Regions from separate parts of the Homo sapiens genome. Here all the other regions are linked to region 5. Evidence: promoter capture Hi-C in 16 types of primary human blood cells and fetal thymus (Javierre and others, 2016). All regions are on one chromosome and are shown on one strand. The core of a region is centred on a gene start or on the middle of the fragment in contact, and the rest is flanking DNA. Distances in the headings are between cores, read along the strand shown. Region 1 holds the start of KRT39 (keratin 39). Region 2 overlaps KRT23 (keratin 23). Region 3 overlaps LOC105371777 (a long non-coding RNA gene). Region 4 overlaps LOC107985072 (a long non-coding RNA gene). Region 5 holds the start of KRT14 (keratin 14). Region 6 overlaps LOC105371777 (a long non-coding RNA gene). Region 7 overlaps LOC105371777 (a long non-coding RNA gene).

What was found. The method cuts DNA at HindIII sites, captures the fragments that hold promoters and counts their contacts. A CHiCAGO score of 5 or more calls a contact.
Region 1: the fragment with the promoter of KRT39 here is called in contact with the fragment with the promoter of KRT14 in region 5 in 6 of 17 cell types (naive CD8 T cells, total CD8 T cells, total CD4 T cells and 3 more); the score reaches 11.1 in naive CD8 T cells.
Region 2: a contact is called between a fragment that was not itself captured here and the fragment with the promoter of KRT14 in region 5, in 7 of 17 cell types (naive CD8 T cells, activated CD4 T cells, total CD4 T cells and 4 more). The highest score is 13.8, in naive CD8 T cells.
Region 3: a contact is called between a fragment that was not itself captured here and the fragment with the promoter of KRT14 in region 5, in 13 of 17 cell types (activated CD4 T cells, M0 macrophages, non-activated CD4 T cells and 10 more). The highest score is 14.5, in activated CD4 T cells.
Region 4: a fragment that was not itself captured here is called in contact with the fragment with the promoter of KRT14 in region 5 in 6 of 17 cell types (non-activated CD4 T cells, activated CD4 T cells, naive CD4 T cells and 3 more); the score reaches 9.5 in non-activated CD4 T cells.
Region 6: a contact is called between a fragment that was not itself captured here and the fragment with the promoter of KRT14 in region 5, in 5 of 17 cell types (total CD4 T cells, naive CD8 T cells, activated CD4 T cells and 2 more). The highest score is 9.7, in total CD4 T cells.
Region 7: a fragment that was not itself captured here is called in contact with the fragment with the promoter of KRT14 in region 5 in 13 of 17 cell types (naive CD8 T cells, total CD4 T cells, naive CD4 T cells and 10 more); the score reaches 15.4 in naive CD8 T cells.

The regions. Positions count from the first base shown.
Region 1 is chr17:40,964,708-40,968,831 of GRCh38, forward strand. KRT39 (keratin 39) reads right to left here and starts at 2,241. Exons shown (of 7, transcript NM_213656.4): 1 at 1,682-2,241. The coding sequence starts at 2,149. The region is part of intron 1 of LOC107985072 (a long non-coding RNA gene); the gene reads left to right. The HindIII fragment of the contact is 5,044 bases long and covers 1-4,124 here.
Region 2 is chr17:40,931,524-40,935,751 of GRCh38, forward strand. The region is part of intron 2 of KRT23 (keratin 23); the gene reads right to left. All of the region lies in intron 1 of LOC107985072 (a long non-coding RNA gene), which reads left to right. Among named protein-coding and RNA genes, the nearest start is that of KRT23, 4.0 kb to the right of the region's middle. The HindIII fragment of the contact is 2,542 bases long and covers 697-3,238 here.
Region 3 is chr17:40,869,700-40,873,584 of GRCh38, forward strand. The region is part of intron 1 of LOC105371777 (a long non-coding RNA gene); the gene reads left to right. Among named protein-coding and RNA genes, the nearest start is that of KRT12, 4.4 kb to the left of the region's middle. The HindIII fragment of the contact is 527 bases long and covers 2,013-2,539 here.
Region 4 is chr17:40,949,129-40,953,049 of GRCh38, forward strand. The region is part of intron 1 of LOC107985072 (a long non-coding RNA gene); the gene reads left to right. Among named protein-coding and RNA genes, the nearest start is that of KRT23, 13 kb to the left of the region's middle. The HindIII fragment of the contact is 4,385 bases long and covers 1-3,625 here.
Region 5 is chr17:41,585,115-41,589,150 of GRCh38, forward strand. It overlaps KRT14 (keratin 14), which reads right to left and starts at 1,781. Exons shown (of 8, transcript NM_000526.5): 1 at 1,196-1,781. The coding sequence starts at 1,720. LOC124904003 (a long non-coding RNA gene) reads left to right here and starts at 3,233. Exons shown (of 2, transcript XR_007065755.1): 1 at 3,233-3,422; 2 at 3,749-3,837. RefSeq lists an enhancer at 183-684. The HindIII fragment of the contact is 10,096 bases long and covers 928-4,036 here.
Region 6 is chr17:40,912,683-40,916,394 of GRCh38, forward strand. All of the region lies in intron 1 of LOC105371777 (a long non-coding RNA gene), which reads left to right. Among named protein-coding and RNA genes, the nearest start is that of KRT23, 23 kb to the right of the region's middle. The HindIII fragment of the contact is 3,918 bases long and covers 114-3,712 here.
Region 7 is chr17:40,891,472-40,895,315 of GRCh38, forward strand. All of the region lies in intron 1 of LOC105371777 (a long non-coding RNA gene), which reads left to right. Among named protein-coding and RNA genes, the nearest start is that of KRT20, 8.2 kb to the left of the region's middle. The HindIII fragment of the contact is 2,707 bases long and covers 716-3,422 here.

The DNA.
Region 1 (4,124 bases), core at 991-3,490, 620 kb before region 5:
CCTAAAAGATCAGCAAAAAGTACTTAACTAGAAACTTTTAAGTATTTTTTTTGTTGTTGTTGTTAAAAAATCCAGGCTGAGAGCAGTGGCTCACCCATGTAATATCAGCACTTGGGAGGCTGAGGCGGGCGGATCACGAGGTCAAGAGATCAAGACCATCCTGGCCAACATGGTGAAACCCTGTCTCTACTAAAAAATACAAAAATTGGCCGGGCGCAGTGGCTCACGCCTGTAATCCCAGCACTTTGGGAGGCCGAGGCGGGTAGATCACGAGGTCAGGAGATCAAGACCATCCTGGCTAACACGGTGAAACCCCGTCTCTACTAAAAATATAAAAAAAAAAAAAATTAGCTGGGCGTGGTGGCGGGCGCCTGTAGTCCCAGCTACTTGGGAGGCTGAGGCAGGAGAATGGCATGAACCCAGGAAGCGGAGCTAGCAGTGAGCCGAGATCGCGCCACTGCACTGCAGCCTGGGAGACAGAGCGAGACTCCGTCTCAAAAAAAAAAAAAAATACAAAAATTATCTGGGTGTGGTGGTGCGTGCCTGTAGACCCAGCTACTAGAGAGGCAGAGGAGGGAGAATCGCTTGAACCTGGGAGCTGGAGGTTGCAGTGAGCAGAGATCGCGCCATTGCACTCCAGCCTGGTGACAGAGTGAGACTCCATCTCAATAAATACATAAATAAATAAATAAAAAATAAAATAAAATCCATCCTAAATTTATATAAATACCATGATCCACTAGAATGTCAACTCCATGAGGGCAGGGACTTTTTAAAGGTCACCAATATTTTCCCAGAATCTAGAACAATGTTTGGCCCAATGTTGTTGCTGCTCAGTAAACATTTGTTGAATGAATAAAACTGAATAAATCCAGATATGTAGTAGCAGAATACGTCTGTGCATAACAAACTTAGGTTTGGTGTAGAAACAAACCAAGCAATGTGGAGATGATAACATAAGCATAAAAGGAGAAAAAGGTGGTGATGGTTGAAAAATGGATAAAAACTAAATTGCTTAGAAACTCATTAAAGCAAAATTTATTTTCTCTGATCTCTGTTTCCCTATTTTTATTTAAAAAATGGCAACAACTTGCTGTTAACATCTTTTGGTCCTGAGTCATCTAGTTATAATGGTAGAGTGTATTTCTGGAGAAAGGAAACACCATGAGACTCTTCTTTTTGTTTCTGATTTTTAAAGACATAGTCTCACTTTTGTCTGGGCTGGAGTGCAGTGGCAGGATCTTGGCTCATGGCAGCCTCAACCTCTTGGGCTCAAGTGATCCTCCCACCTCAGCCTCCCAAGTAGCTGGGACCACAGGCATGTGCCACCACGCCCATCTAATTTTTTTTTGTGTGTGTATGTGTGTGTGTGTGTGTGTGTGTGTAAGGATGGAATTTCATCATGTTGCCCAGGATGGTCTAGAACTCCTGGGCTCAAGTGATCTGTCTGCCTCAGCCTCCCAAAGTGTTAGGATTACAGGTGTGCATCACTGCGCCTGACCAGAAATACTATCAGACTCTGAATGCTGCCTCAAGATGACAATTTCACTCAAGAAATTTTTCTATTCTTCAAAAAAATTTTCAGCATCAACTGAACAAAAAATATTAAAGTTTAGCAAATAACTGTTGCTTGGAAACCATTAATTCACAACACGATTAAACAGGTTCTTAGGAATCTTACCTTCTGCTGGAGCTCCTCAATGGTAGTGTAGTAAGACAGGTAATCAGGACATAGAACAGGGAGCTCTTTGTTACTTTCTTCCTGGATTTTAGATTCCAGTTCAGCATTCTCTCGTTCTAGCATTCGCACCTTTTGCAGGTAGTTAGCAAGGCGCTCGTTCAAGATTTGCATGGTCTCCTTCTCATTACTGTTGATGCCTTCACCATACCAGCTGCAGTCATCCAGAGAAAAACGGGCATTGAAGTTGTTCATTAGGTAGATGGGCTTGCGACAAAAGCGAGGAGTGGGTTGGCAGCCCTGGTCCCAGGGAATTCTGAGAACGTGGCCAGCTGGTTGACAGTTGTTGACTGTAAGGCCACCAGGATGGCAGCCGTTGTTAGAAGAGATGGTACTAACATTTGTAATCCTAGAGCAGTTTTGACATGGGGTTGAAGGAGAATTGGTTGTTGTACAGCCCTTGGTGTCCATAGTATGTGTCTGGCTTTAGTTTGTTCCAGGTCTGTGGTCACCAGGATGAAAAGCTCAAGCCACCTCCACAGAGTCTGAATTCCAAGGCTCTTGGTGTTTTCCTCTTTGAAGTGCTTATATAGCCTCTCTTCTACGTGGTGTCACACAGGTGGGATGTTTTCCTTTCTCAGGTTTATATCAAATCCTGTAGGAACATCTTATTAGTCTGCTTTTTACTTGCTTAAGAAGAGTTATTTGTCTCATAAACATGTGCATTTAGGCTGTTAGTAAGTTATTACCCATCATAACTACTACTTGTCTATTGGACCCAGAGCTTCAAATTATGTCTTCAAAAGGAACTGTCCTAACAGCATCCATTATTAAGCAGGTGTGAGTATACTAAGTTCATTACATTCTTGTTGACCTCTCCACTTGGCACTGAGCTTAACCAGGAATGAGTTCATCCTTCTTTTCCTTTCTTCTCTAGAAAAGGGAAACTATTAATGTTTAATAATTATTGGTAAACTTAGAAATCAGAAGTCAATATTTTAGTTTGTTCTGCCCAAATGGTTTCCCCATTTTCAGTGTCAGGACAATGTGAGTATGAATTAAAATGTTAGTCTTTTAAAAGTCTTGTTTTAAAGATAATTGCTAGATTTATGTTTTAGCTTTCCATAAAATGTAATAACATAAAATAAAATATAAATAAAATATGAAATAAAATAAAAGCCATGGGGAAAAGGTAGGGTTTGATTGCTAATAAGAAATTTCTTGGAAAAGAGACTAGCTCTCTTTTGGTTTTCCAAAGTCCACATTTTATAACATTTTTAGTGCTTGGTGTTTGCTTGTGGTATTACATTAGATAAAAATGTATCACAGTGTTGGTTTATACTGGATGTTTAAATAGGATTCATTGAAAGGGGTGTGTTTTCTTTCTGAGGAATACTTACTCAGCATTTTCTTCAGAAAGTTACTTGCTGCTAATCCTTTATGGAGGCTCTAGGGGAACATCATTTTCTTGCCTTTTCCAGCTTCTACAGGCTGTCCACATCCTCAGCTAGTGGCCCCTTTTCATCCTTTTTTTTTTTTCTTGAATTATGAGATTTTTTGTACTTTGAGTTCTGGGATACATGTGCAGAACGTGCAGGTTTGCTACATAGGTATACAAGTGCCATGGTGGTTTGCTGTACCCATCAACCTGTCATCTACATTAGGTATTTCTCCTAATGCTATCCCACCCCTAGCCCCTCACCCCCTCACAGTCCCCGGTGTGATGTTCCCCTCCCTGTGTCCATGTGTGCTCATTGTTCAACTCCCACTTATGAGTGAGAACATGCAGTGTTTGGTTTTCTGTTCCTGTGTGAGTTTGCTGAGAATGATGGTTTCCAGCTTTATTCATGTCCCTGCAAAGGACATGAACTAATCCTTTATTATGGCTGTATAGTATTCCATGGTGTATATGTGCCACATTTTCTTTATCCAGTCCATCATTGATGGGCATTTGGGTTGGTTCCATGTCTTTGCTATTGTGAATAGTGCTGCAATAAACATACATGTGCATGTGTCTTTATAGTAGAATGATTTATAATCCTTTGGGTATGTATCAAGTAATAGGATTGCTGGGTCAAACTGTATTTATGGTTCTTGATCCTTAAGAAATTGCCACACTGTCTTCTGCATTGGTTGAACTAATTTACACTCCCACCAACTGTGTAAAAGTGTTCCAATTTCTCTCCATCCTCTCCAGCATCTGTTGTTTCCTGACTTTTTAATGATTGTCATTCTAACTGGTGTGAGATGGTATCTCATTGTGGTTTGATTTGCATTTCTCTAGTGACCAGTGATGATGAGCTTTTTTCATATGTTTGTTGGCCACATAAATGTCTTCTTTTGAGAAGTGTCTTTCTATATCCTTAGCCCATTTTTTTGATGGGGTTGTTTGTTTTTTCTTGTAAATTTGTTTAAGTTCCTTGTAGATTCTGTATATTAGCCCTTT
Region 2 (4,228 bases), core at 718-3,217, 650 kb before region 5:
TCTGTCCTCTAGCTTCCTGAATATTTGACTTGTTAGTACAGACAACTTCTTGTTCTGGCAGTGGAACAATGAATAACCGAATCAGTAAATGCTTAGTGAGCACATACTAGGTGCAAAGCAGAATGATTTTAAAATAAGAATATGATCTGCAGTCAGTGTTACTGCCTTTTTTCTTTTTATGTTGAGTTTTGACAGGCTTGGATTGATGCAACTGCTGAAAGAATGATATAGGAAGGGGAAGGACAGTAATTGTTCAAAATGCCCTCTAACTTTTTAGGTTATGGACATGTCATAGCATTTTGCTTAATTAAGCTCATCCACAGCTGAAGATGTTAAAAGGACTTTAGGTTCTGATCCTTTTCTTATTGTATTAGGTTGGTGAAAAAGTGATTTTTGCCATTACTTTTAATTAGTTCAGCCCTCCAAAAATACAAAAATTATTATTTCAGGTGAACATAATTCTTACTTGTGATAGCAATCATGTTTCTAATCAGTGTTACTGAGCAACGCTAACACTAATATTCAATGTATTTTGTAATAGTCATCACAGAACACATTTTTTTTTTGCCCGAAGTGACTGTAACTTGAAGGTGTGTTTATGTCATTGCAACTTATTCTGTGATGAGAATGTGCTCATTGTAGCTATTAAAATATTAACTGAAATAATTCCTTACCATCTAAGGAAAATGCTTAAGAAGCTTCAGTAGTGGTAAAGCCTCCAGTTAAAGACTTTCACTAGATGTTCGTATAATTTTTTTTTTACTTTGAAAAGAAAAATAGTATTGAAAGCACTTACTCGAGCAAGTGTGTATACATTTATGATTTGTAAACACTTGTAGGTATGTTATAGTCAGAGAAATAGCACACATTTGATGTATGTCACTGTCTTTAGGGTAGAAGATGTCTCGTTGTCAAAAGTGTAATAATGCTTTTACGCCAAGTGTTGTGCTGGACTAGAAACTTAGAGCTTTTCTTTGGTTCTGGCTCTGTTCTTGACCATCCATGTGGATGCATCAGGCTGCATCACTCTACTCTCCAGGCCTCAGTTTCATCCATTGTCAAATAAGGAGTCTGTACTAGAGACAGAGGACCTTAGAGGTCTTAGCTCTAAGTTTCTGTAATTTAGTTGGAGTCAGAGAATCCTGGGTAATTCCCATTATATTTACATAGCTCATTCCTTTATTTAGAAAGCATTTTCTTAGGACAAAGCTATACTTCAGTACAAAGGCACCTTTTAAAAGTCTGGTCCTATTTAAAGCTCCACTGATCCCATGGAATTTGGTATCATGAATGCACAATAGCAGGATTTAGAGATGGCATGAATGCTGGGTCTGGAACTCAAAGAGCAGGGCCTGGGATCCTGCTCCGCGCTTACTGGCTGGGTGAGATTGGCTGAGTGAGCTTGGCTGAGTCTCAGTTTATTCATCCATAAAATAGCAATAACAATAGTTACTTCATCAAAGAGTTATGAGAATTAGAAGAGAGTATGTCAAATAATGTCAAATAGCATATTATCGGCATATTATAGACAGTGAAAAATTGGTCGAAACTGAATTTGTTCAGAAAAAAGTAAATAATACACCTTTCTTTTTAAAAATCTAGCACTTTTATAGATTCAGTGACTACACTGTGAACATCCCCAGGTTCTATATGCTGAGATGCCTGCTCAGACTTTTGCTGTTCATGGTGGGACATAGCCAGGCTGGCTGCTCCTGCCTCATTCTTTTTCCTCTTGTGGGATTCCAAATGGTACTATGGCCCCTTCCCTTGCTATAAAGAAGGACACTTTTAGATATTTCCTTGTCTCCTCTCCACAGTGCTGCTTAGGGGCATTCTTACCAATACTTCTCCCTCCAGACCCCTTATTCTTTGCATTATGTAAGCTCCTGCAAAATGAAAAGTAGCTCTATCCCAAAGAGCCTGGGGGCCATTGTGGGGTAACCCTTACTTACTTGTGCACTGAGGTTTTCTATTTGACACACACTATGAGGTGTTAATCTACATCCAGAGAATCAGAAAATCAAAAATACTGTCTATGGGCTTATTTAGCTTTTCTGGGTTAAATTGGTAATTTATCCATTGCAAAGTCCACCTCAAGTGTCTGATTCCCCCAGCTATCATTCTCATAGCACACAAATGTGAATTCTGAAATGTGCTTGATATAGAGCACGTTTAAAACTATTTCCCATTATTCAGGCTTACTTAGTACAGAATTATGATATAACCATCATTTCTGACACAATCTTCATGGTAATAAGTGGATGAAGATGGGTTGAGAAACGATATATGAGGCATAGGTTTTTTACTGAGTGTTGTAATTAATCACCCAGATTCTCCTGAAGGCCCTCAGTTCATTCTTTTAAAAGCAAGTTGGCATATTCTTGCAGCATTGTTGCTTCAGGATGTTTGATCTACTAGGGAGAGGAAAACAGAATGTTTGACTGTAAACAAAAATGCCAAATATAGTCCGATTGAGAATCATTCAAGGTGTTTTATTTATGATACTCCTATGACTGTGTCCAATTCTGGATTTCAAAAGGATTGAATTAATTTTTAAGCTCAACTTGTTATCAACCTTTTGAGTGATATTTAATATACCTAAAGTGAGGGTACGGGAGAACTGTATCCACTCAGAGCATTTCACCAAGGTCCAGGAAGGATAAGCCCCAGGTAATTGTGGGACCTCCTTGCACCTCTGTTTTCTCATCTTCAAATGAGGGAGGTTGGGGTAGATAGACAACCTCAACTTTAAAGAGTTTCTTTCTTCAAGTGTAGAGAAAACACAATGTTAGAGGTAAAAATCCAGAAAAGAGTGAAATTCAAAGCCAAAGAAGTTTCCTATTCAATCTCAGAACCCAGAATTCCAGGTCATCTGAAGGGTGGGCAGGTTGCTCCCCACACCCCCCATTGCACCTACTCACTTTTCTCAATTCTGTTCCAAAGGATTTAGACAATGATTAGGTCTCAGTCTCCTTATCTGTAAGTTGAGAATACAAATACCTGCTCCACACAGTTGTGAGGATTAAATGAGACAATGTGTATGAAGTATGTGATGTGTGGTTAATGATGCAAGTATAATGCATTATCTTTATTCATACTAAGTGTCATTTTTATATGAGGTGGGCTAGGCAGCACTACACTGTAGTGAAATTTATGAGGCTACTGGAAACAGACCTGAGTTAGAATCCCACCTCTGCTTCTTGCTGATGGCTTTGGATGGCTATTTCACTTTTTTCCAAGCTTCCATTTCCTTACAGGGTTCTTGCAGAATCAAATAAAATAATATGGAACATTTCCATCATTGCAGAAAACTCTTGGATAGTGTTGACATGTGTATTAAATATCCAGCAGGATGCCTAGGTACATAATAAGTGCTCAGTAAACATTTCCCTCTCTTTCCTCCCTTTCTTTTTTTTAAATCTCTTCCGCGAGCTCATAAATTATTTGACTGGTTCTAACCTTGTATTTCTTTTGGGAGTCATGGTCTCCCTTTGCTCTCCATTTGCAAAAATCTTCAATTCCTCCTTTCTACAACCAAAGCAACTTTATTAAACAAAAAAACATGATGAGGACTGTTGAGTCACCTTGTTTTTTTTTTTTTTTCATAAAGACAACCATGCACTATATAGTTAAGGTAATTACAGTCAGTTATTAGGTTGATTATTCAATAATTAGGGTTCATTACAAGGACAGATTTATATTATCTTGACTGGTCCTTCCTACATTCAAGCAAGGATGACTGAGCATTGTGAAATAATATATATAAATATTGGAAACTTGTGATACCCTTTCTAGGGGAGGTTAAATCATGGTCTTACAGGGAATTTTCTGGGACTGCTTTATATAAGAGGGGAGTTAGATAGCTTTAAAACATAACCTATGAGATGATTGGATTCCTTCTACTTCTAGCTAATGTTATGAGACATCCCAGAAGGTATTTGCTTAGCTTTTTTGAGGTTTGGTTAAAGAGTTCGGTTTTTTTTGAACAAGGTCTTTATAGCCATCTCAACTCTCAGATTCTAAAAATTATGCTCATTTTATTATTATTGGTTCTAGCAATATGCCATTGTCAGAACTGTGAGCAACTTTACTGCAAGCAACCCACAAACGGAAATATCTAGGGATGTCATGATGACCTATATGCTGGTGTGGTGACAACTTTTAGGCATAATCTTCAAAATAGTGTAACAGCCTTTTGTCGATGGATAACCACATTGTTCAAAAAAGT
Region 3 (3,885 bases), core at 1,026-3,525, 710 kb before region 5:
TGTTTCTCTTACTAAAACAATAACCTGATTTTTTTGGACACTTCAATAGCAGAGATAATATGTGAAGTAAGCCTGTAACTGTTACACAACTTGAATTATGTCAAAATGATGTGGTCTTTTTGAAAATTAAATCAAGAATTTCAACCAAGCCAACATGAAAGTATTCAAGTACTAGGTCTGCTGTTACCTCCATTCTTCAATGTCTAGTCCATTTGCCCAGTGTCTTGGACAAAGTCAGCATTCAATATATGCTTATTGATTTCTCTCTTGATAAATCAAGCTGCTGGGCCATTAATGTGTGTTATGTATGAGGAAATTTTTCCAAAATCAAAAAAGAGTGTATCAATATAAAGGCAAGCTACAAAGTATAATAATTTAAGTATTCGTGGATTCACAATGTAGACACATTCAGATGTTACTCTCATTCTAATGTACACATGCATGCACACACACACACCCAGAAACATGCACTCAGATGTCTTTGCTTGGTGCCAGTGTGCAGGTGCTCCCTGCAGAGGGATCTTCTGCAGCCCCTGCTGCTCCACCTTCCCTGGGAGCCCTTTCTCCTGAGAATGCTTCTTTCGCTGGCCTTTATCTCATTGGAGTTAGTCTCAATGGTTAGCACTTGTTTTGCCTTGTAGAGTACAGACTGACTCCTGAGGAATTCCAGACCTGTAGCCTAGATTCCCCGTAGTTTACTGCTGCCTCCTGTCCACCTGCATATCCAGATATTATCTCCCTGATTACAGCCTCCCCGAAGCTGAGGTTCTTCCATTGTGAAGAGTCCTGAGCCAGAACTAGCAGTGCCCACTGGGGATTAGGGGACAGATGCCGAGGGGTCACACCTGAAGCCCATGGCAAACCTCCATAAGGAATACCTGGGATCAATTCTGGCAAATGGAAGGACTGTTTTGACTTTTTATTAAAAAAAAAAAAAAAAGCCACTTTCCCAGGGACACAAATGATGAACCCGTGGTGAAATCCAATTACAACTTCCTTTTATATTATTACATAAGGGACAAATGTGAAGGGACATATTTCTCCCCAACCTAAACTCGTCACAAAGAGCAAGCAAGTGGGATTTCTAAATAAAGGGGGTTTAAGCAAGAGATTTGCAGAAATCACACATTTGCTATAGATGTGGAAAGAATGTAGCAACCTAAGGCAGTCTCAGCTTGAGAGAAGCCATGATCCATTTGTTTAATTTCTTGAGAGAATGAAAATCTGGTCAGTGGAAATGCCAGTGATTTTAGCCCCATATGGAGGTTTTTACCAAGGATTCCTTAAATCTATATTATAAGCATTTTGACTGAGCTGGTCTTGTTTGAATTATCAGTTATTATGTACTTACTACTTTTTGGACACTGGGCCAGCTGAATTACAGACATTATTTTTTAACCTTCACGGCAAGCTCTTAAAGTGGTACTGGTTTTATTTGTTTGTTTGTTTGAAACAAGGTCTTGCTTGGTTGCCCTCACTCCGGCTGGAGTGCAGTGGTGTGATCATAGCTCTCTGAAACCTTGAACTCCTGAGCTTAAGCAATCCTCCTGCCTCAGCCTCCCAAGTAGCTAGGACTACAGGTGGGCACCACAACACTGGCTATTTTTTTTTTTTTAATTTTTTTGTAGAGATGGAGTCTTGTTATATCGCGTAAGCTGGTCTTGAACTTTAGGCCTCAAGTGATCCTTCTGCCTTGGCCTCCCAAAGCACTGGGATTACGGGCATGAGCCACCTCAAGGCGCCCAGCTTCAGGTGGTACTTTTATCCTATTTTACAGATGAGCAATCTGAGAGTCCAGATGTTAAGTGATTTATTTACGCCCATGCAGCTGGGAGGAGGCAGAGATAGGATTCGGGCCTGCAGTGCCTTCTATAGATACCACAACCTTGCTGCTGGCGGTGACAATAAAAAGGGCAGAGGATACTCTGACATCCCCTAGCTATGACACCTGACACTAGGCTTCTGCCCTGCACATCTAACAGGAGGTGCTCTTTTTTTTTTCTTTTCTTTTAAGCTTTCTCCTTGAATTTCTCAGTGTATGGGCTGAGACCTAGAGAATGACTTTTCATGGCTTATAAGCAACAACATGACACATGAAATTCTGTAAACACACAGGCAAATGCGGTTTTCATTTTAGCTTTGACCTGTAACTACATCTCCAGAGATCTTATAAAGCACAAGTTAAACTTGCACTCCCCACACAAGAACTTGATGTTATGGTTGTTAACTATTATTCACTCCCAAGTGTCCCCCAAGACAGAGAGATTCCATTTTACTGCCATAGAAATGAAAACAGAAGCAAATAAAATGTCAAAAGAAATGTGCCAAGTTCAAAATTGTACCTCAGTGATTTGATCACATAATACGGGAATATGATTAAGTTGAATTTTTGAACTTGGAATTGATTTTGTGCTGAAAGGTACACTTTCCAACTCTAATGCCTATGGTAAAATTTAAATAATATTGCTCAATCTCTAAAAATTATGTTTATATATTATTTGTTTATGTTTCTATACATATAACATATTATCCTAGACTAAGCTTGTTAGGTAGGTACTACATCTAATTTATTTTTTATCCTGAGTCCTAGCCTAGTGTTTCGCTGAACTTTATCACTGCACTCCTTGAATGATTTCATTTGAAAGAAGTTAAGTCTTAATGTGTTTGAATGTGTCATTTGAAATTCATTTCATTTGAAAATGACTGTGCCCTAATTTACTGGTATGCTTTGACCAATATTTATTCTGAATTCAGTTATGAATGGGGAGCAACTTCAGAAGTTGAAAAGGGAAATATTTCTTCTTCAGTGGCTTTTTTTTTTTTAAGTGGGAGGCTAAGTTAAATAATCAAGACTCTGCTTTAGAGGTTTTAGAAGTGAAAATAATTTTCTTTGACAGCCACATTAATGTATAAGGCAGTGGTGATGTAAAAAACAATAAACAATCTTGGGCTTGTTGGCAGAGTGATTGCATAAGTTGAGGCAGAGAGGAAAATGATTATAGCCAGGGCAAACTGTTCAAAAGAATTATATCTTCCATTTTTGTAGAGTTTAGGAAATGTTCAAAATAGAGAAAATTAGTTATGTGGTTTTTACAAGTCTTTAGATTTTTATTGAGTAAATCATACCCTCATCTTTTCATGTCAGGTTGGTTTCTGTCCTGGTCTTTGCAGGGTTTTCTACCTGAGTTTTTTCCCGTAAGACAGACCTGTCATTTTCTGCAACTCGCTGATCCCTTGATCTGTAACATCTTTCACTTTGGATAACATTATAAAATCCTGTGAGTGACTGAGAGAATTTTGGGTTGCCTACATTTTATGTATTGTGCTTTTGAGATGAGGGTTAAACAAGGACCCTAAGGGGTATGAGTGAGATTGACTTCTGGGCTCCAGAGATCAATGGTTCTTGAAAGCAGGGGAGAATTTTGAAAGTGGTAGGAGACAGGAAGATGATAAAATAATACCCTGATGAGAGGAATCTTGGAAATGAGCCTAGGGGAGAGAAAACAGAGATGTTTGAAAGAGAATTCAAAAATAAAAATCACTACTAATGCTTTAAGTTGGAATTGTTACTTGGGGGTCTAATCAGGTACCTGAGGCTGATCCTGATGCATGTGGATGAGAACAGAGTGTCTGAGGAGGTCACTGGCCATGTTTTGATTTTGTATCACTCCATGTCATTCTCCTTTTTAGATGATTCAGAACTCTGGGTAGAAATAATCTCCAGAGCTCAGAAAAAATAGTTATTTCCATCCTAACCTCACCTCTAGGGGCTCTCTCTGAGTTTGATAGCTTCACTTCTGCACTGACAATTTCATATAAAATGAAAAAATACATTGATGATAATTCTAATGTGTGATAAAGACTTCTCTCTGGATCTGTTTACCT
Region 4 (3,921 bases), core at 183-2,682, 640 kb before region 5:
TGATGGTGAAGATGGAAATGGTGGACAAGCCCAGGAATGTGAGCAGCCTCTGAAAGCTGGAAAAGTTTGGCAATAAAACAAATCCCCCCCAGGACCTCCAACACTTTGATTTTAGTACACTGAGTCCCAAGTCAGATTTCTGAAATAGAGAACAGTAAGATAGTACATTCGTGTTTTGTGTTATTTTGAGCCATGAAATGCATGTCACTTTGTTACAGTGGCAGTAGAACATCGTAGTGTCTGTGTGTTTGTGGGGGAAACATCCAGTAGGAACTCTGGTGATGGATTTTTGCTGAAGATTTGCCAGGTCTGTCCTGCAGACCCTGGCCGAGCGTCGGATGAAGGGAGTACTGACAACACAGGCGTGCAGTGTAAGAGCAGCTAGGGGTCTGCCGGCACTTAGGGCCAAAGAAGAGAGCAGCTGCGAACAGCTGAAGCTGCTTGCTTTTATTCAGTACAGACATAATGCCGAAAGCCTGGAGCAAACACAATCTGCGGGTAATTAACATTATTGTTCCCCTTTTCAGGGAGCAGTCATGTGCACAGATTATCAAAGGTCGGTTTCTGGACAACCTAAGTAAACAAGCCTGTTTACGATAAATTCCCCTACACCTCCTTGTACCTACTCCTTGCCCTCTGCCTCAGGATCAGAGAACAGCTGCCTTCAGCTTATTCTCCCCTGAAGCTATGCAGAGCCTTCTGAACTTTCAGAAGGTTTGCATCCTTTCCCTATAGTTTCTCCCACCACTCTGACCAATCTCCTACAAAGATTAAATCAAGGTGAATAGAATGTGTTTTCCATGTGATTTATAAAACATATTTTCCATACACATACTTAGTCTAGATCTTTAATTATTAGCGTAACAGCAAAGATGGTTATAGTTACTATATTTCATAAACCCTAAAAAGGCAAATTATAGGTGGATTTTTAAATTTTCAAATTAATATATATGATATACCTCAGAAAATTATAGAATTTAAATCACATTTAATTAAACATTTTACAAATAATTTTTACGGAGAAGCATAAAATTACATAAAAGGAAGGCTGTTCCTGAAGATCCACGGCACGTGGGAACCATCATTAGGGCAAATGTGAATATGTGTCTTTTATTTACAACCAAAGCCTATTTCCCTCCTGATCTCACCCTTTGTCCACAGCTCGTCTTTCATCCTTAATTATTATTTACTACATAGTCTTTGTGTCATTACTACAAAGAGACGGTGCTGTAACTGGGACGCTGGACACGGTCCCTGCAATCTTAGTCCCACTGTACATTCTGTTCCATGTAAGTGAGCTCCAAATGACCTCTTGGTTCTTCTTACTCTGCAGCCACAAAAACATATCCATTTTGCTCCTTTCTCTTTCTTATTTTGTCTATTTCTCCCAGTGCCTCTCCTGAATACACTAATATAGCATCTTCTGTTTTTTTCTGAACCCAACACGTTTGATTTCATTTCTGATTACCATCCCTCTAATTATAATTTGTAGCCTTTCTTAAAAGGGACCCTGTGGGGGTGGGGGGGGGCAGTGGGTGTGGTTGCTCACACCTGTAATCCCAGCACTTTGGGAGGCCAAGGCAGGTGGATCATCTGAGGTCAGGAGTTCGAGACCAGCCTGACCAACGTGGAGAAACTCTGTCTCTACTAAAAAAAAAAAAAAAAACCACAATTGTCTGGGCATGGTGGCGCATGCCTGTAATCCTAGCTACTTGGGAGGCCAAGGCAGGAGAATCACTTGAACCCAGGAGGTGGAGGTTGCGGTGAGCCGAGATCGTGCCATTGCACTCCAGCCTGGGCAACACGAGCAAAACTCTGTCTCAAAAAAAAAAAAAGAAAAAAAATGGAATCCTGGGGGTGGACTTTGGATATTTCATCCTATCAGCCTTGTGTCCTGTTACTCTTGGGATGGGTCAAAACCAGGAAGTCCCCTGCAGCTTTGGCAGCCCACAATTGCTGATGAAGCCACAAATTGTTGGAAACATGAATATCCGGCATTCATTGTTTTGAGCCTATGCTCGCCATGAATATGAACTAGTTAGAAATGAGACCTACACTTTCCCAATGCTTCTCCATTCAAGACCTCTTGGCTTTATATCTAGTAGAGCAGGGCTATACTGTGCCAATCTTCTAGCAATAAACTTCACACAAATCCAACAGCCTAATTGTTGTGGTTAGAATGAGAAGAGATGAAGATGCTGTTGAGTTAGGTCATCTGGTCTCCAAAGCAGAACTTCACAAGGTGATACTTTCTTGTGAAGTCACAGTGGTCTATGTCTGTTCTTAGGCTGGTGGGTTATTAGTGCACCAGAACCAAAGGGATTCTCAGGAGCTGACTCAGAGTAACCTGACTTTTAAGTGCCAGATGAAAGAGACAGAATGCAAACTTATTAATTTAACATTGAAAGATGATCCATTTTGCAACCACAGAGTTCCCAACTGCAAATCAATGCACCTTCTTTGTTGTACCTAAGAATTAGAGAAACCAAATTGTAATATGAAGGCTTTTGTCAAAAATGGAACTAGAAGAGGGATATGGGGTCTTGAGGAATGAGGTTGAAAAACTGCCTCAAGTCCACACGTGCTTAGATGGTGTTCATGAGTTCAGTGTTGCCCCTTCCTGGATTGGGCTGGACACTGTTGTGTTGTGTTTTTAGGGCTCACTTTCTCTTTTTAAAATATTTTCTTAACCACTTGAACCACCAGGGATATGGCTCACCTTCTTTAGACCTCCAAGACAAGCATTATTTCTTTAATTCTTTATAGCTTTCATTAGGCTACATGTATGACATTTTCAAACTTGAGTAATTATTTAATTGATTGGGCATTTGGAATAGAGGATTTGAGTTTGTTCAGATTTTGACTTTAACATTTACTAGCTGTGACACTGAGCAAATTACTTAACTTCTGTAAGCCTTAGTTCACTTGTTAGTAATGTGGTAATAACCATAGTATGGTAGGGCCATTGTGAGAATTGAGTGAGATAATTCATGTAAAGCATGTAGCACAATGTCTAGAGGCATAATATTTAATCAGTTTTTAATTGAATGAAAGAAGCATTACTCTTTCTACTTTTTGGCCCTAGGAGACACTGTGGCTTCTGTGCATCTGTGATTACTTTTATTATGTGTTGGCGGTGGAGAAGCCTTCCAGCTGTTTTCTCCATTGACACCATAACCTGACTCCAGGAAACATCAGGGCCACAAGAGACAAGGGTAACAGATATTGTACTAGGAGAAGGGCCATCAGTCCTCTCTGAATTGCCCTGTCATTTCAGTTGTCCACAAAAGTGATCCTGTTACAGGGATGACTTCAAACTGTTCTCCCTTCTCCTCCAGGGCTATCTTCTTCCTACTGGCCGCAAAGATTGTGAAGGTTGATACATGATGGAGAGGTCCTTTACAACTGAGCTCCCTAACATTCTGGAAAACAGAAGAGTTGGACCTTTATGTGGTTTTTACTTTGGGTCAGGTGTGACTCAGCTTTCTTTTAAAAAGAAAGGTTCTATCCTTAATATAGCACTTTCATTAGTTATCAGAATGGCTTTGCATGACTATGCCATTGTCATTTGGCTCAAGTGAAATAATTCATTAGCTCTCATGTGATTGTTTTGCCAACTGAAGTAAGCTTCACGAAGCAGTATAATGCAATCCTACTAACAAGGTTACTGGGTGCCAGGCATGCTCTAGGAGCTTTGCATGCATTAATTAATGATGTCATCTCAGCCCTATGAAGTAGATGCTATTAATAGCCCCATTTTAAAGATGAGGAAATAGAGAGATTAAGTAACTTGCCCAAGATCTCATGGTATGTGGCAGGGCTGGGAATCAGAGACCCAGCTGGTCTAGATTCAAGTATGTGTTATTAATCAGTACATGATTCTGCTTTTTAAACAAAGGTGGCCAAAGTTCTTTTCTAGGT
Region 5 (4,036 bases), core at 531-3,030:
ACTGTAGCCTACATTAAGCTCTTGCTTCATGTTCTTGCCTGAATCCCCCTTTTCCCCCACAAAACTTGACCATAGCAGCCCAAAGGAAAACAGATGCCCCAGGCCTGTCCTAAGACTTTGCTAACTCATGGTCAACAGAGGGGGTAGATGCAGCCCCGGGCTTAGAATCGAAAGCCCAGGAGTTCTGGTCCCAATTCTGCCAGTGTCTTGCTGCAAAACCTAATGGGTCTTGGGGCTTCAAGTTCCCCACCTCCAGGTGAGGAGAATAATCTGAGGCTCCCTAGCCCTCCTTCCTGAGCTGACCTCTCTTCTGTCTGCATCAGCCAGCCCTGCCAGTCCTCTGCAGATATGCACATTCCTTTTCAAGCTCACAGGCCATGGGACTTCAAGTGGAACTTTCTCAAGAGATAAAACCCAACTAACACAGGGGATTAGAAAAGAGGACTCAGGGGAAGAATAAGAAGATATATTGGCCCCTGAGTCTGGTTGGATTTCCCCACCTCATCATTGAATTTCCCTAATCCATGCAAGTCATTAGAGCCCAACAGACTCCAGCAGGGAGGGCTCCCAAGTAATGTGGGAGCAGGGAGGAGGGGGCTAGAGTCAGGGCACAAGCCTGCCAGGCTCTCTCTGTGCAGGGCACATCAAGGGACCACACTAATTGTCTCTGCAGGCTCTCCATGCCCGCCTGGCTGTGGGGAGGGACCAGCCTGTACCAAGGCTTATGGGCGGCGGCAGCCACAGCCCAGACTAGTGAGCTAATGAGTGGTTTGGATGTCTTGCCTGGTCCCGTTAGAGCCTCACTCCTCCCCTGTGCTGGAGAACAAGTAGCTGCCTCCTGTGCTGGAAGGTAGGGCACAAGGGCCCCAGCCTTGGCTCTGCCATTAATTTGCTATGTGACCTGCAGCTGGTCACAGCACCTCTCGAAGCTTCAACTGCTTCCTCTAAAAAATGTAAGGATAGGAATCACTGATCTCACATGGTCTGAGGATTTGAGATCAGAAGGGGATGAGGAGGCTGGGGAAGGGAAAGCATCTTCTCACTGATCAGTCTTAGGGCATCCAAGACCTCGAAAGAAGGGATCTGGGGTGGACTCTGTCCTATAGAGAAATCTTAAGGTCTCAGGGGCCTGGGGCATGAATTGTTCCCAGAAGGAGCTAGCTGGAATGGTGCCTTCTGCTGCCCATTCACCCACCTTGTTCCTCAGGTCCTCAATGGTCTTGAAGTAGGGACTGTAGTCTTTGATCTCAGCAGGCCGCTGCCTCTGGTACCAGTCACGGATCTTCACTTCCAGGTCGGCGTTGGCCTCCTCCAGAGCACGCACCTTGTCCAGGTAGGAGGCCAGGCGGTCATTGAGGTTCTGCATGGTCACCTTCTCACTGCCCACCAGAAGCCCATCACCACCAGCAAAGCCACCACCAAAGCCACCACCCAAGCCAGCACCAAGGCCACCACCATATCCTCCCCCAAAGCCACTACCAAAGCTGCTGCTGCTGCTGCTGAAGCCACCGCCATAGCCGCCCCCCAGCCCGCAGGCTCCCCCAGAGGAGAAGCGGGAGGATGAGACAGACAGGCCGCCCCCGTAGGTGCTGGGGGCGCGGCAGGACCCTCCGGCCAGGACGGAGGAGATGCGGCTGGAGCCGCCCCCGATGCCGCCCCCGATGCCGCAGGAGCCCTTCATGGAGCTGGAGGAGGTGAACTGGCGGCTGCAGGTGGTCATGGTGCAGAGGAGGGAGGTGAGCGAGCGAGCAGTTGGCTGAGTGAAGAGAAGGTGCTCGGGTAAATTGGAAAGGGATGCGAGTGCTTTATACTCGTGGGTAGGGGGCGGGTCTGGCACTTTCCATTCCCCTTGGCTTTCATCACCCACAGGCTAGCGCCAACTCCCAGCCAGGTCCCTCCTCTCATCCGCCTCATCATGTCTGTCATATTTTACTGGAAACTCATTGTTTGGAGTGTTTTGGGCTTTCTTGTCCCGCCAGGCGTGATTCACAGGGGGAGGTGTGGGCCTGCAGGCTACACTTTCCCATCGGACCCTGGGAGTCCCAGCCCTCAGGAACCCGCGCACTGGGCTTAGCCAGGGTGACAGAGAGCAGGGCCTCTGCACCTTAAACCTAGTTACCTGCTAGCTCTCCATGAACTGAATGGGCCTTTAACATCCACGTAGAGGAAGCCTGCTGCTGCAGGGGATGGATACCCGGCTGGAAAGCACCGGCATGGCAAGGTCACCTTGGGCACAGACAGGCCTCCCTCACCATGACCCTCTATTAGAGACAAGGAGGTCTGGGGGGCCCTCCCAGGCCTGACCTCCCATGCTGTGCTGAGAAGTCTGTCCCATCCCTGAAATACACCCAGCTAGTCAGGTGTATCGTGGTTCCCACCCCAACATCCCCATCAAAGAGAAATCCAGGCAGCTCTCCCCAGCCCTGAGCACAGACCCTAATCTCCTCCCTATGGTGAGGATCTCACATCCACCACACCATAGGGCAGGTGGCCTCATGGAGGCCAGGAAACAGCCTGGAGTCAGGTGGGTCCTGGCTCTGCCATTTACGCCTCTGTGACCCAGGGCTTGGCACTTCTCTGAGCCTCAGTGTTCTCATCTGCAAAGTGGGAGTCATACCATCTATTCTGCTTAGTGCAGTCAGCTCTGAGAATCCAATGCGACAATGTATGTGAAAGGGTTTTGTAAACCGAGTATGGCAAGAAGCCTCGTTGGCATTGTTATAGCCCAGGCTTAGCCCCAAAGTGGCTGGAGCTGCATCCAGGAACAGGCCTAGGGGGGCCTTTTATTCTTCCAGCCCCAGATATCTTCTCAGACCCCCAGAACATCCCTAGTGTGGGCAGCTCAGGCGCCCTCGTTTGAGCCCCTTGTGGAACTGGCCCAGGAGATGTTCTGGGGAGGAGTAGAGGCTGGAGTGGAGCTGGGCTGTGCCAAGGGCAAGGCTGAGGTGGACACGAGGGTCCCTGACTCCTGAAGCCCCAAGGGTCAGGGGACATTTCTAGGAGTCCACTTGGTCCTGCTTTGGAGGTGTGTATATCAAAACTTCAGCAATCTCCCAGACAACCTCCCAAAGCAAACCCTTCCGGCCCCCACCCCACCCTCCCATCAGCCCCTAGGCTCCACAGACCCCGGCAGGCATGTTGAGAGGAATGTGATCGTGTCTGGGGCTGCCTGACGCATCCTATCTCCTCAGACAGGCCCCAACAGCCCCTGCTGGAGGCTCCAATGCTCTTCCTGGGATCAACTGCTCCTAGAAGAGAAGCAGGACCCTCTGTCACCCCCAACCCCACCTTGACTGTCACCAAAGAAGAAGCCAGAGAAGGGAGCCCCCCACTACTGTGGCCTAGGAGCTTGGAAGACAATGCTGAGACAGACATCTGAGCTGTGGGCTCCCCAAATCTGCCAGCAAAGGACTCTCAAGGATGTGAGTAAGCCAGGGCCCCACCCCGCTCCACCCGCCCCTGACAGACACTCCTAATCTCCCTGCAGAGAATGGTCCCCCCACCCTGGCCCAGCCCTACAATTTCCCCAGAGAGAGGCAACAGGGGTTTTGGCTGAGGGACAGATGCTTTTGTTGGGAGGCATGTTGCTGTTGGCTGTGGGGCAAGGGGAGGCTGTGCTCACTGGAGAAAAATGCTGTGTCCAGAGGGATCTGGGAGCGGGAATGGGGTGCAGAGCCCAGTACCGGCTTCCTCTGTGCCCCACCACCCCCACCCACCACCACCACCACCATGTCTCCTTCTTATGCAGGGATCAGGAATAGAAGCTCCGGAGCCCGGGACATAGGAACAGCTCTACTTTCCCTTTCATTTCATTCAATAAAACCCAAAAGAAACTCCTTCCTCCCCCTCCTCCGAGGGGAATCCAAAAGATAAAGATGGCAGGGAACCAATGACAGATCAGTCAATCACATAATCTTAAAAGGCACTTCTGCAGTCCCACCCCAACCCCACGCACCAACACCAGAACCCTAGCATGGAATATAAGCCTGATCCCCCACACCCGGTCTTAGAACCGTGACCCAACCTGGAGCCTGAG
Region 6 (3,712 bases), core at 823-3,322, 670 kb before region 5:
AAACAAGCTGAGACCATACCGGGGAAGGCCTTGGATACTTGAGAAGGGTGTGAGGCCAGTCACAGGAGTTGACTCGGTGGAACGGGGCATAAGAGTTACGGGTGGCTTTATGAAGCTTTTGTTGAGTGTGGGAGGGTGGAAAGAGCTTTACTGAAGAGACATGTTTTCTGTTTCCCAGTTCAAATCAATTTCCTTATCATGATACAAGCAAGGGTAATAATTATTAGGATTATTTACCATGATTATGGGTGACAGGAATTGCAGTTGGGCAAAGGGACTCTTTTGTATATTGTAATTTCCTTCCCTAAAGTTCTAGCTTCCTTATTTTGTCTTCCTAATAGTGACTCACACCGCAGTAGGCAGGAAGCAGGTATTTAATGACCACTTCTTCACTGGTTCTTTATTCCAACTCCATTCATTCCAATACAAATTTCTTGAAAACAAAGAATAATGACATCCATAACACAAATGAAAGCAGCCTGTCTAAGCTGATTTAATTTAGTATGGAATAGGACGCAATTTCACAGTTAGAGTTATTGTTGTTTATTTTTTTTTATTATTTTTTTTTTTTCAGATGGAGTCTCTCTCTGTCGCCCAGGCTGGAGTGCAGTGGCGCAATCTCGGCTCACTGCAAGCTCCGCCTCCCGGGTTCACGCCACTCTCCTGCCTCAGCCTCCCGAATAGCTGGGACTACAGGCACCCGCCACCATGCCTGGCTAATTTTTTGTATTTTTAGTAGAGACGGGGTTTCACCGGGTTAGCCTGGATGGTCTCCATCTCCTGACCTCGTGATCCACCCGCCTCGGCCTCCCAAAGTGCTGGGATTACAGGCATGAGCCACTGCGTCTGGCTGTTGTTTTTATTCTTAAAACTTCAGCCATCATTTGGTTCACTGAAGAAAGAAATGGCCCTTGAAGAGAATTTAGAAAGATTTTTATAAGTGAATACTCACTTATACATAAATATAGACGTATATTTTTTAGTGCTAGTTAGCTAACACAATAGACAATCCTGGACAAGTGTTTTCCATCCTCTCCTGTGAATCTGATTTGTGAACCTCTCATAGCTTTTACTACGCATGGAGTCCAGGAAAAATTTGGGACAAAGTGATCGATCTTAATTTCTAGACTTCATTCTGTCTTCTGTTCTTGGTGAGAACCTAAGAAACATCTTCCTTCCAGGCCTGACTTAGTGCTCTTGCAGGTTTAGCTTGCTTGGAGCAAGACTGTGCTAGTGGGATTCTAACGATGCCACCTTTCCTGCTGTGTTGTTTATCCTGTTCAGTTGATAGAGGACCTATTGAGACTGGTTTATAGACACGACACTCACTGTGGGGAATGCATCGAATTGCTAATTGATCAAAATCACCCATAATCTTGCGACTCGTGGATCAGCAGCCTTAGCATCCTCTGGGAGCTTGTTAGATGTCCAAAATCTTGGGCCTCAACCCAGAACAATTAGATCAGAATCTGCATTTTAACAAGATCCCCATATGATAAGTATGCACATTAAGATTTCGGAAGCACTGACATATAAGGCTTGGGACTGGGTGGTGACCTGAAACTACTGCTTCCTAGGGTGCTGGGGATGATACATGAACATTTTCACAATATTTTTTTTGTGATGAATCTCTGGATAAAATATTCTCAGCTGATGACTGTTGATGGTATTGGGTGTATCTGTGGCCTGTCCATTATTACTACCCTGTCTTTGTCTTTCTTGTCCTATCATATTCTGTGAGTGTGTGGGGAAAGAAAATTTTGATAGAAAACAGGAGTGAGTGTGGAGTCTAACTGGACAGGTTGGGGTCTGAGGTCCTCCAGGTTTGGAACTTGCTAAACTCTCTCAGGGAAGCAATCATCGTCCCTGATGCTGATTCGTTTTAGGCTAAAACAAGTTAAGAACACACCTCTGTATGAAAGCAGTGGATGCTTTGAGGTTTGATTAATGAGAAGGTAGCTTTTGGTTATAAAAACCTGTCCTCTGGTCCTGAGTGTCTATTTCTGACTCATGGATCTTGTCAGAACAAGATCCAGGTAAATGATGTCAAACTACCAATTGCCTCTGAAAAATATGAGTTCTGATTTTCAAATAGAAAATCCAGATTTCTCATACCTGGGCTCTTACCTTAGATAAAAGCCATCAGCAAGGGCTCATCAAAATGTGTTGCCCATATTCAGATTTTACATAACTCTCTAGCAAGCACTTTTGACTTGTGTGGCACAAAGAGTAAATATACTGGGTACAAATTCTGTTTCCACCATTTTATAGCTGTATGACCACAGGCAAGTTAATGCAGTCCATTTGAGCCTCAGTTTCCCCAATCATAAAATAAAGATAATGATATGCCACAAGGTTTTGATAAATGTTAAATGAGATTGTGAATGTAAAGCTCAGTCAAGGATAGTTGTTATTTAAAAAACTTCTGGTACATGTGTGTGTATGTCAATGCATACATGCTATGCTGCGTATGCATACCATGGAATTAGCAAAAATTGACTTGTAGTTTCTATTAGATGACTCATAATTTTATTAGATGAATTCCCATTTAAATTTCAATGGGAAGTTTGGGTGAGTAGGACAACCCATGTACTGAAATAGTTACACACACACACAAAGTTCAAGGTAAAACTTCTGAGTATGATTAGATCATCAGATCGTTAGGTATGTGAGAAGCACTGTCTTTTCCTTTTTGCATGATCTCACCTCCAGTATATTTTAGAAACTCTCTAACTCTCTTCAGAGAGATGGTGACACGTAGATGTTGTAATAGAATAGATGAGATGGGAATGAGTCACACATGGGAATGAAAGTAGGCCTATAGTCATTCGGAAAACCAATGTTGTTACCATAGGGAAATAACCAACAAAATACTTCAGGTGATATGTAAACACCAAAAATCTGAAAAGTATTTATTGATTAAAAGCTGTAGAAAAGTATAGCATTTAGAGTATAGCATTGTGAATAATCATGGCTAGAATAAATGAATTATACTCTTAATGACTTTTAAATATTATGACTAGAAGCTACGTAATAATTATGATCACCTTAATTTGTAAATGACTTATAGTTTCTTGGTGAGGGAGAACATTGCTTAACTATGTTGAAAAGAGATCTCCTTTCAGTGAAACTGTTGGTTTGTGTGGTATTGGAGGCATAAATATTTGTAGAGAAATTGTTAATGTCCCTGGAATGAGGAACTAAAAGAGAGTCAAAAGGAATTGAAACTCAACGAGAAGAAAAAGAATTTCCTTGGGCATCCCAGCATGCTTAAGTGAGGAGCAGGGGATGCCCTGACTTCAGGTTGGAGCTACACTGCTTGGTCCCACTTGGGAAGGAGCAGAGAGGAGAGCTGTGAACATCATGTGCAATGGCTTTACTCTTTACCATCTCTGAAGAGGGTAGACCTTTGCTTTTCTCTTGAAAGTTTTGATGTCATCTATTGTTATTAGACCAGGACTTTCATTAGAGGTCCATGTCAGTGTTAAAATGACTAGTATGCTGGTCAAAAGTTTGGTGGGATGCAAATGAACTAGTTCGCCTTAAATCAGCTATTGTCACTGAGCAAATAACAGAGTCTTCTGTTTAAAATACTCTGTTTCACTTGCCTATTGCGGCATGAAAAATGACCCCAAAACTCACTGGCTTAAAACAACCACCATTGTATTTGTTCACAATTATTTTGTGGGACAGAATTTTGGATTCAGAATAG
Region 7 (3,844 bases), core at 819-3,318, 690 kb before region 5:
AATTACATTATTGACATGGATAAATATTAAAAAACATAATGCTGAAAAAAGACAACAGAATCCATCCAGATTTTATTGATATATAGTATAAAAACAGGCAAAACGAAATAATGTATGCTTAAGAGATATACATATAGATAATGTAGATTGCAAATGATGGTCACAGATTCCTCCTGTCTCTGATGCACACTCCTTTGCAAGTCCTTTCAGAGTCTGAGGGGCATCTAGACCATTTCCAATTTTTGAAGCTCCTGGTATATTAAACAATTGAAAAAAATTTAAAGTGTTTATATTTCCTTTACATTACCATTTGCAACACAAAATCTCATAATACAATAAACCTGTACCAATCACAAGATTTATTTAAAAAATACTAACTTATTTTAGTGTACTATAGGCTACGTGGTCCAGTGTGGGGGCATAGTTTCAACGGATGAGATGGATATCTTAATCGTGATCCTCCTGCGTCGGCTTCCCAAAATGTTGTGAGTACAAGTGTGAGCCACTGTGCCTAGCCAAGATGGATATAATCTTTTCATCCCAGAGGTGACGTTTGAAACCAGATAGGGCTGCATTTGGATTTAACATCCTAAATCTCTGACTGGGAAGCCACAGGCTCAACGGTCCTCTTCACCCCTGCAATTGGCTCCGTATCCGTGTTATTTTGCCCATGTCCAGTGTTATGCCAAGGACAAGTGAGTACTTATTTTACACAAGCTTGACTAAGAGAGAGCCCAACTGAATTCCTCCCAAAACAGAAGAATAATTTGTCACCAAGACTAATTCTAGTTCCTACCTCTAGAATCATAGTAAAGAAGTTACTGACAATTTAAAAATAATATTAGCACCTGTTTCTAGCCATCATTAGTTCATGAACGTTGAGGTCCAGTCTCAAACACCTACCTAAAAATGCAAATCTGATTATTTCACTTCTGTAAAAAACTGACAACAGTATGTAGTCAAGTCCAATATACAGCTCTCAAAGATCTAGCTCCTGCCTACCTTTTTAGACCCCCTGGTCACCCCTCCATGCCTCAGATGGCACACTCCAGTAACACACACCACTGATTCCTCCATTCCATGCTTCTGTATACTCCATCCCCTTCTCTTCTTCTGCATGTCATCTCTTCCAGGAAGCCATCCCTGTGCTCTCAAATTCCTTCCCTCCAGGATGACCAACTGTCCTGGTTTGCCCAGGACACAGAGCTTTCTGCAATGTGAGACTTTCAGAGTTAAAACTGGGACAGTCAGTCCCAGGACAGTTGGTCACCCCGTTCATCTCTCCTGTGCATGTCTCTCTTTCTTGGGTATAGTGTGTGCATGGGCTTTGGCCCTGATTCCTTTGTGGAATGAGTGGGTGTGGGACATGGGGAATAGGATGAGATGAGAATGACTGGGTGGTGATAGTGGTACCCCATGGCAAGGGGGACACTGGGACAGGACTGGGAGATGGTTTGGGAGATGGTTTACTTAACATAATGACCTCCAGTTCCATCCATGTTGTTGCAAATGACAGAATCTCATTGCAAAGGGAAACATGGTGTGTTTGTGGAAATGCCAAGTTTGTAGCACTTGTGTCAGATTTAGGTGGAGGAGACCTGGATGAAGAGGAAGACTGTTGAGTATTCTGATTTGGAGACCAGGCTGGGAGTGCATAATAAGGTACTGATAAGGTACGTAGGAAAGGTTTTCTCCAGTATTATTGATTTTTTTTTTTTTGAGACAGAATCTTGCGCTGTTGCCCAGGCCAGAGTGCAATGGCATGATCTTGGCCCACTGCAACCTCCGCCTCCTGGATTCAAGCGATTCTTCTGCCTCAGCTTCCCAAGTAGCTGGGATTACAGGCACCTGCCACCATGCCCATCTAAGTTTTATATATATATATATTTTTTTTGAGATGGAGTTTTGCTCTTGTTGCCCAGGCTGGAGTGCAATGGTGCAATCTCGGCTCACTGCAACCTCTGCCTCCCAGGTTCAAGCGATTCTCCTACCTCAGCCTCCTGAGTAGCTGGGATTACAGGTATGTGCCACCATACCCGGCTAATTTTTTGTATATTTAGTAGAGACGGGGTTTCTCCATGGTGGTCAGGCTGGTCTCAAACTCCTGACCTCAGGTGATCTGCCCAGCTCCGCCTCCCAAAGTGCTGGGATTACAGGTGTGAGCCACCACGCCTGGCCTAATTTTTGTATTTTTTAGTAGAGATGGGGTTTCACCATGTTGGTCAGTCTCGAACTCCTGACCTCAGGTGATCCACCTACCTCGGCCTCCCAAAGTGCTGGTATTACAAGTGTGAGCCACCATGCCCGGTGCCAGTCTTGATGATTCTTATGTTTATCCCTCATATATAAATTACCACCATGATTCTAGTTCACTCAGTCTTCCAAAACTCCAGAGTCAAATCTGCACAGACAGACCACAGGAAACAGCATCTCCTGGGAGAGGCTGCCATCTTGCATAGCCCTTGCTGCTGCCTGGAGGCTTCTTCTCTCTAAACTGCTGCATTATCACATCATTGAGCGTTTCATTCATTGTGATAACTGAAGACTGTAGAATTTATGGTGCTTGTGAAAGCTCTAGAAAATATTGCCTAGCTATAGGCTATAATATTGTTAGCTAACTAAATGGTAATAACCAATTAGCATTGAACTTTTTTAGACTATGTTCTAAGGGAGAAATCATCAGTGATTTAATTTTCTGATATGCTTTTATGTTACTTGGACAACCCAAACTTACTATTTTTGAAAACAAGTAAGCAAGTGACAAATCACTCACCATGTGTTTTTATTTTTCATGAGGCTTGTTTCTAAATACAAAGAACCATATAGGCTATCATATCTGAAAGAGCCCTTGAAAGTCATGTAGGCCATCCTCATTTTACAAATGAAAAGCTGAGGCATATGCAGATTAATGACTTGCCTATAGCAACGGTACAAATATAGAAAGTTGAGATTAAGCTACATAATATTTGCTCTGCAAATTGATTTTTAGTGCTTTTGCATGACCCAGGAAAACTGTCTTGGCAACAACATCCTGATGTATAAACAAAACTCTCATCAACGAAATTACTGCTTAAAAGGTGAATATAAGGTCTATACTCAATACATTTTTGTTTCTACCTGGGGCTAGAGACCTCCTCTTTCAATATGGTCCTTCCCGTGCTACTAATCACACAAAATTGAAACAGGTGCTCTAAGATACGGCGGCGATCATTGGCTCCAGAATGCTCCTAGAGCAAGGCACGATGTATATGGATGCATCAGACTAGATGAAGAGATGTATTATTAATTCGTTTTTCAGAATGCAAACGGCAGATGTGTTCACATTTCTGCTCGGTGGGGTATTTCATTACTTTTTAATGTGCACACACTTAAGTAAAAAGGGAAAAACAAACCATACAAAGCATCCGACTGGTTAAAAGAGAAGCTTCATATTGAAAATTTGTTGCAGAGTACAGGATTGAGCTTGAAATGGAGGGATGGAAAGAGAGAGGGAAAGAACGCTTTTCCCAACACCTAATTTTGCAAGGAAGAGTTGTATTAATAAACAGGTTTTAGGAAAACTGCCTGTAAAGATTAACATCTTCTGGGCTGGGCGTGGTGGCTCACACCTGTAATCCCAGCACTTCGGGAGGCTGAGGTGAGCGGATTGCTTGAGCCCAGGAGTTCAAAACCAGCCTGGGCAACATGGTGAAACCCCATCTTTACAAAAAATACAGAATTTAGCCAGGCATGGTAGTGCGCGCCTGTGATCCCATTTACTCGCAAGGCTGAGGTGAGAGGATCCCTTGAGCCTGGCAAATTGAGGCTGCAGTGAGCGGTGATCACGTCACTGCACTCCAGCCTG